Linked DNA regions of Homo sapiens: all the other regions are linked to region 1. Evidence: promoter capture Hi-C in 16 types of primary human blood cells and fetal thymus (Javierre and others, 2016). All regions are on one chromosome and are shown on one strand. The core of a region is centred on a gene start or on the middle of the fragment in contact, and the rest is flanking DNA. Distances in the headings are between cores, read along the strand shown. Region 1 holds the start of SLURP1 (secreted LY6/PLAUR domain containing 1). Region 2 has its middle 11 kb from the start of LY6H. Region 3 has its middle 29 kb from the start of LY6H. Region 4 overlaps LY6E-DT (LY6E divergent transcript).

Region 1 (3,553 bases), core at 590-3,089:
TCCATCTATCCATCCATCCCCCACCCATCCTCTATTCATCCCCTACCCATCCACCCATACATCCTCCACCCATTTCCTATCCATCCCCCATCCATCCACCCATCCATCCATCTATCCATCTACCCATCCAGCCATCTATCCATCCCCCACTCATCCTCCACTCATCCCCCACCCATCCACCCATACATCCTCCACCCATTCCCCATCCATCCCTCATCCATTCCATATTCATCCCCCACTCATCCATCCACCCATCCATCCACCCATCCATCCATCTATCCATCCATCCCCCACCCATCCTTCATTCATCCCTGACCCATCCACCCATACATCCTCCACCCATTTCCCATCCATCTCCCACCATCCACCCATCCATCCCATATTCATCCCCCACTCATCAGCTACCCATCCATCCACCCATCCATCCATCCACCCAACCATCCCCAACCCATCCTCCATTCATCCCCCACCCATCCACCCATCCATCCTCCACCCATTTCCCATCCATCCCCCATCCATCCAACCATCCATCCCCCATCCATCCCATATTCATCCCCCACTCATCCATCTACCCATCCATCCACCCATCCATCCATCCATCCACCTATCCATCCATCTATGCATCCATCCCCCACCCATCCTCCATTCATCCCCAACTTATCCACCCATACATCCTTCACCCATTTCCTATCCATCTCTTACCATCCATCCATCCATCCCATATTCATCCCCCACTAATCCATCTACCCATCCATCCACCCATCCACTCATGCATCCACCCATCCATCTCCCATTCATTTACCCATCCATCCCCCACCCATCTATCCATCCATCCCCTATCCATCGCCTATTCATCCCCCATTCATCCATCCCCCATCCATCCATCCATCAACTCATCCATCTATACAACCACCCATTGGGACATCACAGGACAGAGAAACCAGAGAGGCTGGTATACCTGGAAGGACTGTGGAGAGGGGCACCTTAGTGGGTCTCACAGCATGGGGAAGATGTGGGACATCAGATGGGAGACCAGGCAATGTGGTCATTGAGCGGTATGGCATAGGCAGGCATGCGTGTGGAACAGGGTGTCGTGGGGGGCACGCAGTAAAGAGCAGACAACACAGTCAGGCCAGGAGGCTGGAGGGTGAGCAGAACCTTATTGTCAGGCGCCTAAAATCAAGAAACTCAGGTTTGGTCTAAAGGCCATTAGTGGGAAGGGGCTGGCAGTGATGAGGGGCCACTCCTGGGCCCAACCTTGTCAGCCTGAGAGTGGTCTAGCTGGCCCATGCTACCCTCACCTGACACCTGCTTCCTACCTCTGGTTTCTACTTTGCAGGTGTGTATCAGGTGTACACAGACCAGGTAGAGGTCTGTGGAGAGGGCTGCAGGCCAGGCTGCAGGGAAGGGGTGCCAGGCGGGGCTAGAGCAACAAGGGCAGAGGCTACACTGAACCTGGGTCTTAAGGGTCCCCCAGGCTGGGGCTGGGTGGCCTATGTGAACCCCAGAGGCACAGCCAGGACATGGGGGCTCATCAGAGGGGCAGTCTGAGCTCAGCAGGAAAGGCCTTCTCTGTCAGAGCTGTCCCAGGACCACTGGACATGGCTGAGGAACAGTGAGTTCCCCAGTGTTGGAGGTGTGCAAGCAGAGGCCTGGCCATCGTCCTCAGACAGAGCTCCCAGATCCAGCTCCCTGCCCGTCTGCCATGTTCCTGCCAGCTGCCTCCCCACTGGGCCCTTTACCACGTTCCTGACTCACACGGCCGGTTCTGCCACCGCCCAGAAGCCGGTGCCCAAGGGCCTGGGTATAAATCCTTGATGTGAGGCTGGCTACCTCTCATCACTTCTGAGCACGGAGCAATGGCCTCTCGCTGGGCTGTGCAGCTGCTGCTCGTGGCAGCCTGGAGCATGGGCTGTGGTGAGTGGGCCGCAGGCTGGTGGGGACCCTGCCTCTGAGCTTGTCTGCCCACCTCCTAGGGGGATGGGGCTGTTGGGGGTGCTTTGTGGCTGAGAGCCTCCTTAGGCCTCCATGAGGCTCACCCTCCTCATTCTCAGTGAGCCTCCTGGGTCCCAGAGCCCAGCTTCACCCTGGGACAGGGGTCACGGCTCCACTCTGCAGGAAGGGAGACTGAGGCTTGGTGGAGGGATGCAGCATTCAAGTCTGTGGCTCAGCTCAGTTAGAGAAAGCTGCCAGAGAGGCCCCTTGAAGGGCTGCCCGGGGCCTTGAAAGATGTCAGCGAGACTCCTTCAGCCCCTGCCTCCTGGTTCCAGGATGAGGCCACCGAGGTCAGGTGATGAGGTTCTGCCCCCATCCCTCACCCAGGTGAGGCCCTCAAGTGCTACACCTGCAAGGAGCCCATGACCAGTGCTTCCTGCAGGACCATTACCCGCTGCAAGCCAGAGGACACAGCCTGCATGACCACGCTGGTGACGGTGGAGGCAGGTGAGGCCAGGCCCCACGGCAGCCCTGGGTGCACTGGAGTCAGGGCCACCTCCCCCAAGTGCCTCCCTCCTTTGCTGGTGCTCCTCCCGGCCCAAAAGGCAGCAGGTGGGATGGGCAGAACAGGCTGCCACACCTTGGCAGGGGTGCCTTCCACGAGGGTGGCACAGCCCCCTCAGAGACCCAGTCCTGGGGCACCAGGCGCTGGAGGTGGGTGGGGCTTAATGGCCGGGGTACCCTGGGGGGCTCAAACCCCAGCTCTGACACAGACCCACTGGGTGGTGTTGCCACAGCCTCTGGGCTCGGGCTCCCATCTCAGCGCAGGCACTTCAGAGGTCTGACAAGGCCTAATAATTCATGAACAGGTCACAGTCAGAGGAGGGCTGGGCCCTGGGTGGCTTCACAGATGTGGACTATTGGGAACAGGGATCACAGGGAGGGTGAGGTCAGGCGACGGCGGCTGGGAGCAGTGCAGCAGCAGGCAGGCGCTGCAGGGGAGTGAGGGTTCTGACACTGGCCCACCCTGCAGAGTACCCCTTCAACCAGAGCCCCGTGGTGACCCGCTCCTGCTCCAGCTCCTGTGTGGCCACCGACCCCGACAGCATCGGGGCCGCCCACCTGATCTTCTGCTGCTTCCGAGACCTCTGCAACTCGGAACTCTGAACCCAGGGCGGCAGGGCGGAAGGTGCTCCTCAGGCACCTCCTCTCTGACGGGGCCTGGCTCCACCTGTGATCACCTCCCCCTGCTTCCTGCTGCTGTGGCACAGCTCACTCATGGGGTCTGAGGGGAGAGAAGCACACCAGGGGCGCCCTCTGCCTTCCATACCCCACGCTTATAAAACATAACTAAGCCAAGAGTGGACATGACTTTTGTCCTTCCTGGGCACTGACACCCTACAGAACTGGCCTTCAGGAGAGCCAGGCTGAAGGACAGCACATTCTAGGCACCTGCTCCTCCCTCTCACCCAGAGCCTCTGTGACCCATTTCACAGATAGGAAAACAGAGACTTAGGGGAAGAAATGCCTCCTGGGCCCCTTTCCTGATGCAAACTAGCCTGGCATCTCAGACCAGGACCTGTACCCTAGCCCAGGGAACATCTCCCGCTAAGAATCT
Region 2 (3,553 bases), core at 719-3,218, 410 kb before region 1:
CTAAAGCAGTGGGTCTTTCAGGTCAGGCTGGGGCCCACTGCAGGGCCAGCTCCAGCACTTGCTGCCAAGGCCACCTGGAAGGGAGGCTAGTGCCTTCCTCACCCTACTTGGAGGGAGGCTGCTGGGGACAGGGGCGTGGAGCAGGAAGGGGCAAGGAGGTTCAAGGGCTCCTCTGTTTGGATTCTTTTAAAAAAACAGGTAAGAACGCTTGCATCAATTAAAAAAGAAGTCTACCTTGAGAAGTGTGTCTCCTGCCCTGTCATTATCTGACCGGTTTCCTGTGTACCCGTTCAGGATGTCTTTATACAAGGACAAGAAAGTCCTTTACAGCTGAGGTCGTTTACTCTTTCTGCCTCTCAGTGCAGCCTGGAGATCTTTCTGTGATGGCGCAGAGCCAGCTCCCCACTCCGTTCTTAACAGCAGCATCGCACAGCACACATACTCCTGTGTCTGCTTATTTATTTATTTAGAGACAGAGTCTTACTCTGTCGCCCAGGCTGGAGTGCAGTGGTGTCATCTTGGCTCATTGCAACCTCTGCCTCCTGGGTTCAAGAGATTCTTGTACCTCAGCCTCCCAAGTAGCTGGGATTACAGGTGTGTGCCACCATGCCTGGCTAATTTTTGTATCTTTAGTAGAGATGGGGTTTCACCATGTTGGTCAGGCTGATCTCCAACTCCCGACCTCAAGTGATCTGCTGGCCTTGGCCTCCCAAAGTGCTGGGATTACATGCGTGAACCACCGCGCCTGGCCTGTTTCTGCATATTTAGATGGTCTCACTCATGCTCCAGTTACAAGGCTGTAATGCATAGCCTCAGACATGTCAGCTAGCTGCTGCGTGTGGGGACACATCTCCAGAGTCAGTCTTGCTGGGCCTGTAACTGATGAGTGAGCATGGTTGTCCTGGGGCTGCACACTTTCACACTTCCAGTAGCGATGCCTGAGACCACAGCTTCTCTGTTGCCGTTGGACTTCCGTGAGTCTGGTCAGCAATGAAAGACGGCATTGCAGCTGTGTTCTGAATTTTGGAAGTTGGACCACAGGTATGGGGACCTGGAGGCGCCGTCACCCTTGGCTCCTGGCACGTGCCCCTTATTGGTTCGTGCATGCCCGTCTTCTCGTTCTGGGCATTTTGATTTCTTTGTCTTTTGTTGGGGGGTGTGTGGGGATGGTTTCCATTTCTCTGGCCTCTCTGCTCATAACCTCGGTCCCTTTGCTGTGGGATGGTTGGTCTCCTTACTCTTTTCTGGGAACTTTCTGCATAGCTGGGAAATAAGCCCTTCATTTATAATAAGAGTGACACACATTTCCCCCTTTATTTTGCTTATGGTGTTTTGTGAGTTTTTTTTTCTTTTTTCTTTTTTTTTGCCACATGGAAGCTTCTTTTCCTTGAATTTTTATGGAGACACTATTACCATTATTTCTTACAGCTTCAGGATTTGAGTCATAGAAAAATCTTCCCTCCTCCGATGCTTAAAGGGAACCTCTCCTGCTTTCTTCTCAGGCGGAGCAGGGCTGGCGATTACCCAGCGCCCGATGGAGGAACCCAGTTGGAAGCTGCGTGGTGCCCAGGCCTGGGGCTCACCCCTGCACTTCGAGGCCCCGTGTGTGCTGGGGCTGTGCTGGCACTGTGGGCTGGGGGATTCAGGGCCGGGCAGCATAGGGGTGCTGTTTTCCCACACCCAGCCTCCAGTGAGTCCTCCCTCCACTGAGGGCAGGAACCTGTGGCCCCTGCAGCCTAGGGGCCTGTGGACCACGCCTCACCCCCAGGGGGTCCCAGGCCCACCACCCCTGCTCCCTGTGTTTCCTGCAGGGATGCAGAACATGCTGACTCAGACCTAAGCTCACAGGTGCAGGGGACGTCTCCCATCCCCAGAAGGGCACACGAGGGTGGTTCCTGGAATCGCCTCTCCCTGGCGTCTGTCCCTCTGCCCTGGAGCATTTCTGAGGCCCTCCCTGTGCTGTCCCATCCTGGGTGCCCGGGAGTCCCAGGCCTGGTCTTCTGTCCCCTCACTGGGCAGGGAAGGCCTGCACACGTGGGTGGCCGGTGGCCCCTGCTCCTCCTGGGCTCTGCGGTCCCCCCTTATGCTCCGGCCCCCGTGAGCCCCTTCCCACTGTAAGGCTCTAGCCCCACCTGGTGGGTGTGGGTGAACTGGAGGGGAGGGGGCTAAATGTGTTCATTGATTGACTCCACCCGGTGGCTCATTCTCTCTTGTGTTGGTTTCTGCACCTGTCCATGCTTGCTGACGTGAGTTTGAAATGCATCTGTCCGTGCCCCCTCGGCACAGCTAAGACACGCAGAGAGGAGCAGATCAGAACCAAGAGGCCCAGAGCGGGAGACAGGGGCTGCAGAGCTGGGATGGGGGCACCTGCTGCTCCCTGCAGTCTTGATGCCTGAGCTGCGGGGCTCACTCCCCTCCCATGTGGGCTTTTACCAGCGAGGCCTGTGCCCCAGGTCCTGAGCGTGGGAGGGTGTGTCAGGTGGTCATTTCTAGCAGTGAACGTTATTAGGGGACAGAGAGGACAGTGACGAACAAAACCTGGTGGCCCAAGAAGCTTGAATCCAGGAGGACCAGGCCGGCCTTAATGCCTTTGAGCCCCAGCTATGGGCTCAGGTCTGGGATCCTAGAAAGGCTGGCCAGCTGTAGTCTGCAGCCCATGATGGGGGTGGGTGCCCATCTGGGAGGTCCTGGTGGGATGCAGGAGGTGAGGCCTGACGGGCATGGGGTGGATGGAGGCGCCCAGGAGGCCCAGGACCTGGCCTGGGGAGGGCGGGCCTGGGCCACCCAGCGAGGGCATAGGTGAGTTATGGGTGGGGCAGGGCCCCCCGATGCTGACTGGGCTGAGGTGGGCACCGCAGGATACTGGGGTGGGGGCGTCCTGGAGAACTGGAAGGTGGGAGTGGCTGAGAGTCAGGCCCTCAAGGAACAGGAGAGTCTGGGGCTGGGGGCCTCCCCCGGCCCCTCGCCTGACAGTGGCCCTCCTGGCTGAAGCTCCAGAATCCCCCGGCTAGAGCAGAGCCTCTCTGCCCTCCCCACCACTGTCCTCAAGTTCCCCTAATGTCACGGGGGCTCCTTCTCTCGGCACTGGGGGCTGGCTGGAAGCAGCCATGCATCACTGGCTCAGCAATGGAGAACCAGAGGCTCTGGGAAAACCGCTGAGTGTCCAGCTGGGAAATCTCTGGGTGGGTGAGAGAGGGTTTTGAGGCAGCGGTGAGGCCAGGTCCCAGACTTCCCTGGCCCATGGCGGTGCTCGGAGCAGCGTGGCTTGGCTGTGGGTGCTGGGGCTGGGTTCGCACTCTTCCTCCCCAGGCCACTGACCCTGGCCTTCCCTCCCCTGTCCCCACACTCCCAGGTGAGATGGGTGTGGCTCTTTGGAGCAGGGATCCCGGAATTCAGGTCTGTCCAGCCAGCCCCTCAGCAGATGATCGGTAATTTTGTTAAATGAATGAATAAAGTAAAAAGAAATGGTGAGGGATAAAGAATGATCATTGAATCTGCCATAAATCATGAATTCATGTGTTTGATGAGCGGGACTGGATAGCAGGGGGCACGT
Region 3 (3,553 bases), core at 789-3,288, 390 kb before region 1:
TGTCATTCCTGGAGTCTGTATGCGATTCTTCTACTTGCTAAAATGTAGCTGTAAGGCCAGGTGCGGTGGCTCACACCTGTAAATCCAGCACTTTGGGAGGCCGAGGTGGGCTGATCACGAGGTCAGGAGTTCAAGACCAGCCTGACCAATATGGTGAAACCCCGTGACTTTAAAAATACAAAATTAGCTGGGCGTGGTGGTTACTTGGGAGGCTGAAGCAGGAGAATCGCTCGAACATGGGAGGTGGAGGTTGCAGTGAGCCAAGACCACACGGCTGTACTCCAGCCTGGGCGACAGAGCTAGACTCCGTCTCAAAAAAAAAAAGAAGCTGTAATCCCCAAACACTTACTTGCACGGAGCGGCGACAATTCTGAGTCACCGGAGTGCGTTCTTGGCTGAGGTTGCGCAGGGCGGCCTTCTTGCTCCAGCTTGTGCTGCAATCAAGAGCCCTTTTCGTGGTCTATCTGGTGCCATTTTTTTTTTTTTTGCATTTTTGTGCTTTTTGTGGGTGACTTTGCTGTTTGCAATGTCCCCAAGCATTGTCCCGAGGTGCTGCCTCACGTCCTAGGCAAGGAATGCCTGGGTCAGAGAAGCTTTGTCCAGGCTTACGGTGCTTGGCACCGATTGCAATGTTAATGAAGCCACCACGTGCATTCAGTAAGGGATCTTTAAATAGAAACACAGAGAATGAGATGATATATTGATCGGCTGATGAAAACGGAGCCAGAGGCTTGCGGGACCCTAACCCTGTGTGTCTGCTAGCAGCAGGGGCTCAGCGTTCTCTAACTCAGCCTTCGCAGGGGCTCTGCAGACTGGAGCTAAGGTGGGTTGTGAGAAGTGGTGGCAGGTGCAGCCCAGGAGAGCCTTGCAAACAGCTGCCTTAGATGACCGGGTCTCGAGAGCTGTGTCAGACAGCGTGGGGTTGGTTTTCTGGGCCTCCATCGCCTGCTCTTTGGCTGGGGCATGAAGAAGCTAAACGGTGGTTTCTTCCTTGGCCAGGAAAGGAGGACACACTGTTAGGTTTTTCAGTTTCCTAACAGTTGTCCAAAGAGAATCAGAACTGCCAGTGGGAAGAGGAATATTTAAGGGGAATAATCCCGGCTCTGATTATCCACGCATAGGGAGGATAATCCAGTCCAGCCGGCTCAGGGGCTCAGGTGGGTTCCATCACGGTCTTTGTTCACCCATGAGAACGCGGCTGAGGGAGCAGGGGGCCTCATTCCGGGCACATGCGGCCCACACAGCTGTCCTTTTACATTGGTGGCACTCAGGCTGCGGGAGAACAGCGATGGGTTGAGGGGCCGTTGTCAGCACTGCTCCCTCAGGACTCAGGCTACTGCCCGGCCCCGACCTGGCCTCTGACCTCTACAGCATCAGATGCCAGGGATGAGAGTGTTCAGTAGCCCCTCCTGGGTGAGGAAGGATGCACACTGGCCCAGGGCTGGGGACGGGTGTCCGATTTCCATCGATTCCCGTATGAGTGGCCTTTACAGCCTCCCGGGCCTGTGTCTGGATCCTGGAAGAGGTCGCCCTCTGCTGTCCCTACTCAGGATAACAAGCCTCCTGCTCTTCATGATGAGCGTGCAGGGACACTGTTTCTGCCGCACTCAGGGCCCCAAGACCAAATTCTAAAATCTCCCCAAACCTTCAGCAGGGTGGGGCCAACCCTCATGAGACCAATGCATCTGTTTCTGCCTGGAGATCGCTGGGGCTGGTTCACACTTGGCACGTTCGGACTCGCAGATCAAGCTCTGAGGCAGGGAGGAGGCAGCAATGCCCCCTCCACATGCAGGCAGCGCCTGGCAGGTCCGGGGTCACCCCAGAGTGGAGGCCAGGCTCCTGGGCATTCCCCACCCTGGGATCCCTGCACTGTTCTCATCTGTCCTCCGAGAGGGGCAGACGGCAGCGACGGCTGGAGGCCGCACTCATGGGCACTGCAGACTTAGAGAAGCCAAAGTGCGTTTTATGCTGAGCCAAGAGTGAGTGGCAACCCGGAACACAGGTTCCATCGGCTGAGGAGGCAGGAGGGGTGGTTCCACAGCCTGAGAGGGGCAGTGCGCTCAGGGGGACCTCGCAGTCCTGCCTGGCCTCGGTGCCTTGTACACAGGTGGAGTGGACACGTGGCTGGCACACAGGGTGGAAAGCTGGCACCTACTGGAGCCTCAGGGTCTGCAGGGGCGACTGTTCTGTCCTGCCTCATCTGACAGGCACGGCAGTGACCAGGACACGTCAGTGAGACAATGCAGATTCCAGCCTCATAGGCCAGGCCTGCCTCCTACTACCCGTGTGGCCAAACTGCAGCCATCTTGGTCCACTTTTGAAAATGTTTCTTTCGGATCTTTCTGGCTGGTGCCTCTGCTGCGGAATAGCAGCTCCAGTGGGTTACCTGTCAGGAGCGCCCCTGGAGGTGCAGCTTCCCTCGTGCTCTGAATTACTCAGGTGAAGTCAGCAGGAATCCGATTCCCATCTCTGGGAAAAGCACCTCTGGCTTCTTTATCATCAGCCTTTACTTGGCCCCAGGTCTGGGAGAGGTGGCAAGAGTATTACCCTCTTGCTCTAGGGCCATCACGGAAGGAGCCACTTGCACCCCTGCAGGATCACGGGACCCTGTGGGTATCCCCCTGCCTGCAGGAGCCCCCCATTTCCACGGTTCCTGTTGGATCCCCCACTGCAGCTCTGCCTTCGAGCAGGCACCCGGCACAGCCCTGTGGTGCTGTGTCTCGGCCTGCTGCTGCCACAGGACTCGCCGGTGAGGAGCCACGGGGCAGCCCTCCTGCTGGCCACATTTGCAGGAAGTCCCGCCATGGGGTCCAGTCATGACCAGTCTAATGTCCCTTCTGGAGCCTGTGCCGCCCACTTTAGTGCTTGGGCATGGGGTCCTGGGACCACTGGCTCAGGCAGAAGAAGAGAAACCTTTGGGAGGTGGGGAAGGTACAGAGGGTCCAATTGCACCCCCCACACGCCCTCCTCCTTCCCCCAGCCCTGAAGCCTGTGAGCGGCCTGCCTGCCTTCCCCTCAGGCTCAGTCTGAAGACACCCCAGTTAAGCGACTCCACCAACTGGTCACGTTTCTCACACCTGCCTGAATAACCTGTCTTCCAGTGGCCCATTGCAATTTTCAGCATGGCCACAGCTGGACGGGACGAGCAGTGTGGTGCACACGTATGCTTGCCGTGTTTCCTGGACCGTCTCAGTGTCCTGGTGCCAGCAAGAGTGGGTACCTGGATCAGAAGAAGTAGGTCCAAGTCGGCTGAAATTGACAGAGGACTCACCATTCTAAACACCTCATGCTGTTCCCAAGGTTGCTTCTGTTACAAATAAGCCAAGTCCAGAATAGAGTGTCGTGAGAGCGTGAGATACAGCTTAGCTCCTTCCTGGAATCTCTGGAGTGACAAGAGTCTCTTTTGTAGTGAGTGTGATGAAGTTTGGGTTGATCATCAATAGCCAACGATGCAATCAATCATGTATATGTAATGAAGCTTCCATAAAAACCCAAAAGGAGCTTTCAACAGTTGGACGCACGCAGGTGCCTGGAGGACGGCGCCCAGGAGGGC
Region 4 (3,553 bases), core at 650-3,149, 260 kb before region 1:
CTTCTTTCCTCCAAATGACTGCCCCACCTCTCCAGCAAGGGTTCTGAACCAGGCTGAGATGGCTGAAATGACAGAAATAGAATTCAGAATATGGATAGGAACCAAGATCATTGAGGTGTAGGGGTATGTGGAAACCCAATCCAAGGATGATAGGAGTCACAATAAAATGATGCAGGAGCTGACAGACAAAATTGCCAGTATAGAAAAGAGCATAACTGACCTGATAGCACCGAAAACCACACTATAAGAATTTCATAATGCAATCAGAAGTATTAATAGCAGAATATACCAAGTGGAGGAAAGAATCTCAGTGCTTGAAGACTAGCTTTCTGAAATAAGACAGTCAGACAAGAATGGAGACAAAAGAACTTTGAAAAGGAATGAACAAAACCTCCAGGAAATATGGGATTCTGTAATCCAAATCTGTGACTCATTGGTGTCCCTGAAAGAGATGGGGAGAGTGTAAGCAACTTGGAAGACAGATTTCAGGATATCATCCATGAAAACTTCCCCAGCCTAGCTAGAGAGGCTGCCATCCAAATCCAGGAAACTCAGAGTAAGATACTCTATGAGAAGATCATCCCCAAGACACATAATCATGAAATTCTTCAAGGTCGAAATGAAAGGAAAAAAGTTAAAGGCAGCCAGAGAGAAAGGCCAGGTCACCTACAAAGGAACACCTATCAGACTAAGAGCAGACCTCTCAGTAGAAACCCTACAAGCCAGAAGAGATTGGGGGCCAATATTCAACATTCCTAAAGAAATTCCAACCCAGAATTTCATATCTGGCCAAACTAAGCTTCATAAGTGAAGGAGAAATAAGATCCTTTTCAGACAAGTAAATGCTGAGGGAATTTGTCACCACCAGACCTGCCTCACAAGAACTCCTGAAGGCAGCACTAAATATGGAAAAGAAAGACTGTTACCAGCCACTACAAAAACATACCAAAGTACACAGACCAGTTGCACTATAAAGCAACCACACAAACAAATCTGCATAATAATCAGCTAACATGATGACAGGAGCAAATCCACATATATCAATACTAACCTTGCATGTAAATGGGCTAAATGCCCCAATTAAAAGGCACAGAGTTGCATGCTGGATAAAGAACCAATACCCATCGGTATGTTGTCTTCAAGAGATCCATTTCACATGCAGTGACATCCATAGGCTCAAATAAAAGGATGGAGAAAAATCTACCAAGCAAATGGAAAACAACAAATCAGGGGTTGCAATCCTAACTTCAGACAAAACAGACATTAAGCCGACAAAGATCAAAAAAGACAAAGATGGGCATTACATAATGGTAAAACGTTCAATTCAACAAGAAGACCTAACTATCCTAAATATATATGCACCCAACATAGGAGCACCCACATTTATAAAGCAAGTTCTTAAAGACCTTCAAAGAGACTTAGACTCTCACACAATAATAGTGGGAGACTTTAACACCCCACTGACAGTATTAGACAGATCATTAAGGCAGAAAATTCACAAAAAAATTCAGGAGCTGAACTCAGCACTGGAACAAATGGACCTGATAGACACCTACAGAACTCTCCACCCCGAAACAACAGAATATGCATTCTTCTCATTGCCACATGACACATACTCTAAGATAGATCACATGATTGAACAAAAAACACTCCTCAGCAAATACAAAAGAACTGAAATCATAACAACCAATTTCTCAGACCACAGCACAACCAAATTAGAAATCAAGACTAAGAAATTCACTCAAAATCATGCAATTATATGGAAATTGAATAACCTGCCCCTGATTGACTTTTGCGTAGATGATGAAATTAAGTCAGAAATCAAGACGTTCTTTCAAACTAATAAGAACAAAGATACAGCATACCAGAATCTCTGGGACACAGCTAAGTCAGTGTTAAGGGGAAATTTATAGCACTAAAGGCCCACATCAAAAAGTTAGAAAGATCTCAATTTAACAACCGAACATCACAACTAAAAGAACTGGAGAACCAAGAGAAAACCAGCCCCAAAGCTAGCAGAAGACAAGAAGTAGCCAAAATCAGAGCAGAACCGAAGGAGACTGAGACGTGAAAACCATTCAAAAGATCAACAAATCCAGAAGTTGGTTTTTTGAAAAAGTTAATACAATAGATAGACCACTAGCTAGACTAATACAGAAGAAAAGCGAAGATCCAAATAAACACGATCAGAGATGACAAAGGAGATATTACCAGTGGCCCCACAGAAATATAAATAACCACCAGAGAATATTATGAACACCTCTATGCACATAAACTAGAAAATCCAGAAAAAATGGGTAAATTCCTGGACATATACACCCTCTCAAGACTGAGCCAGGGCCAGGCATGGTAGCTCATGCCTGTAATCCCAGCACTTTAGGAGGCCAAGGTGGGTGGATCACTTGAGATCACGAGTTTGAGACCAGCCTGGCCAACATAGTGAAACCCCATCTCCACTAAAATATACAAATTAGCTGGGCATGGTGGTACATGCCTGTAATCCCAGCTACTCAGGAGGCTGAGGCAGGAGAATTGCTTGAACCTGGGAGGCAGAGGTTGCAGTGAGCCAAGATTGCACCACTGCACTCCTGCCTGGGAGACAGAGCAAGACTCTGTCTCAAAAACAAACAAAAAACAAAAAACTGAGCCAGGAAGAAATGGAATCCCTGAACACACCAATAATGAGCTCTGAAATTGAATCAGTAATGAATAGCTTACCAATCAAAAAAAGCCCAGGTCCAGATGGAGTCTCAGCTGAAGTATATCAGATGTAAAAGGAGAACTGGTACCATTGTTGCTGAAATGATTCCAAAAAAATTGAGGAGGAGAGACTCCTCTCTAACTCATTCTATGAAGCCACCATCATTCTGATACCAAAACCTGGCAGAGACACAGCAACAACAACAAAAACTTCAGGCCAATATCCTCGATGAACATCGACACAAAAACCCTCAACAAAAGACTGGCAAATGGAATCCAGCAGCACATCATCAAGCTTATCCACTATGATCAAGTAGGCTTTATCCCTGGCATGCAAGGTTGGTTCAACATACACAAATCAACACATGTGATTCATCACATAAACAGAACTAAAGACAAAAACCATACAATTATCTCAATAGAGTCAGAGAAAGCTTTTTATAAAATTCAATACCGCTTAATGTTAAAAACTCTCAATAAACTAGATATTGAAGGAACATACCTCAAAATAATAAGAGGCATCTCTGACAAACCCACAGCCAACATCATACTGAATGGCCAAAAGCTGGAAGTATTCCCCTGGAAAACCAGCATGAGATAGGAATTCTCTCTCTCACCATTCCGGTTCAACGTAGTATTGGAAGTCCCAGCCAGAGCAATCGGGCAAGAGAAATAAATAAAAGGCATCTTGTCCAGGCATGTGGCTCACTCCTATAATCCCAGCACTTTGAGAGGCTAAGGCAGGTGGATTGCTTTGGGCTCAGGAGTTTGAGATCAGCCTGGGTAACACAGTGAGACCTCGTCTCTACAAAAAAAAAAAAAAAAAAAAAAGCAAAAAATTAGCTGGGCATGG

The links. Contacts are between HindIII fragments. The CHiCAGO score rates a contact against its expected background, and 5 or more counts as called.
Region 2: a contact is called between a fragment that was not itself captured here and the fragment with the promoter of SLURP1 in region 1, in 1 of 17 cell types (naive CD8 T cells). The highest score is 5.9, in naive CD8 T cells.
Region 3: a contact is called between a fragment that was not itself captured here and the fragment with the promoter of SLURP1 in region 1, in 1 of 17 cell types (naive CD8 T cells). The highest score is 5.2, in naive CD8 T cells.
Region 4: a fragment that was not itself captured here is called in contact with the fragment with the promoter of SLURP1 in region 1 in 2 of 17 cell types (naive CD8 T cells and total CD4 T cells); the score reaches 5.6 in naive CD8 T cells.

What each region holds. Positions count from the first base shown.
Region 1 is chr8:142,740,692-142,744,244 of GRCh38, reverse strand. It overlaps SLURP1 (secreted LY6/PLAUR domain containing 1), which reads left to right and starts at 1,839. Exons shown (of 3, transcript NM_020427.3): 1 at 1,839-1,917; 2 at 2,323-2,442; 3 at 2,969-3,296. The coding sequence starts at 1,860. The coding sequence ends at 3,102. The HindIII fragment of the contact is 7,810 bases long and covers 1-3,553 here.
Region 2 is chr8:143,147,520-143,151,072 of GRCh38, reverse strand. No RefSeq gene overlaps it. Among named protein-coding and RNA genes, the nearest start is that of LY6H, 11 kb to the left of the region's middle. The HindIII fragment of the contact is 1,177 bases long and covers 1,380-2,556 here.
Region 3 is chr8:143,129,184-143,132,736 of GRCh38, reverse strand. No RefSeq gene overlaps it. Among named protein-coding and RNA genes, the nearest start is that of LY6H, 29 kb to the left of the region's middle. The HindIII fragment of the contact is 2,885 bases long and covers 596-3,480 here.
Region 4 is chr8:143,004,103-143,007,655 of GRCh38, reverse strand. The region is part of intron 1 of LY6E-DT (LY6E divergent transcript); the gene reads left to right. Among named protein-coding and RNA genes, the nearest start is that of LY6E-DT, 13 kb to the left of the region's middle. The HindIII fragment of the contact is 2,196 bases long and covers 802-2,997 here.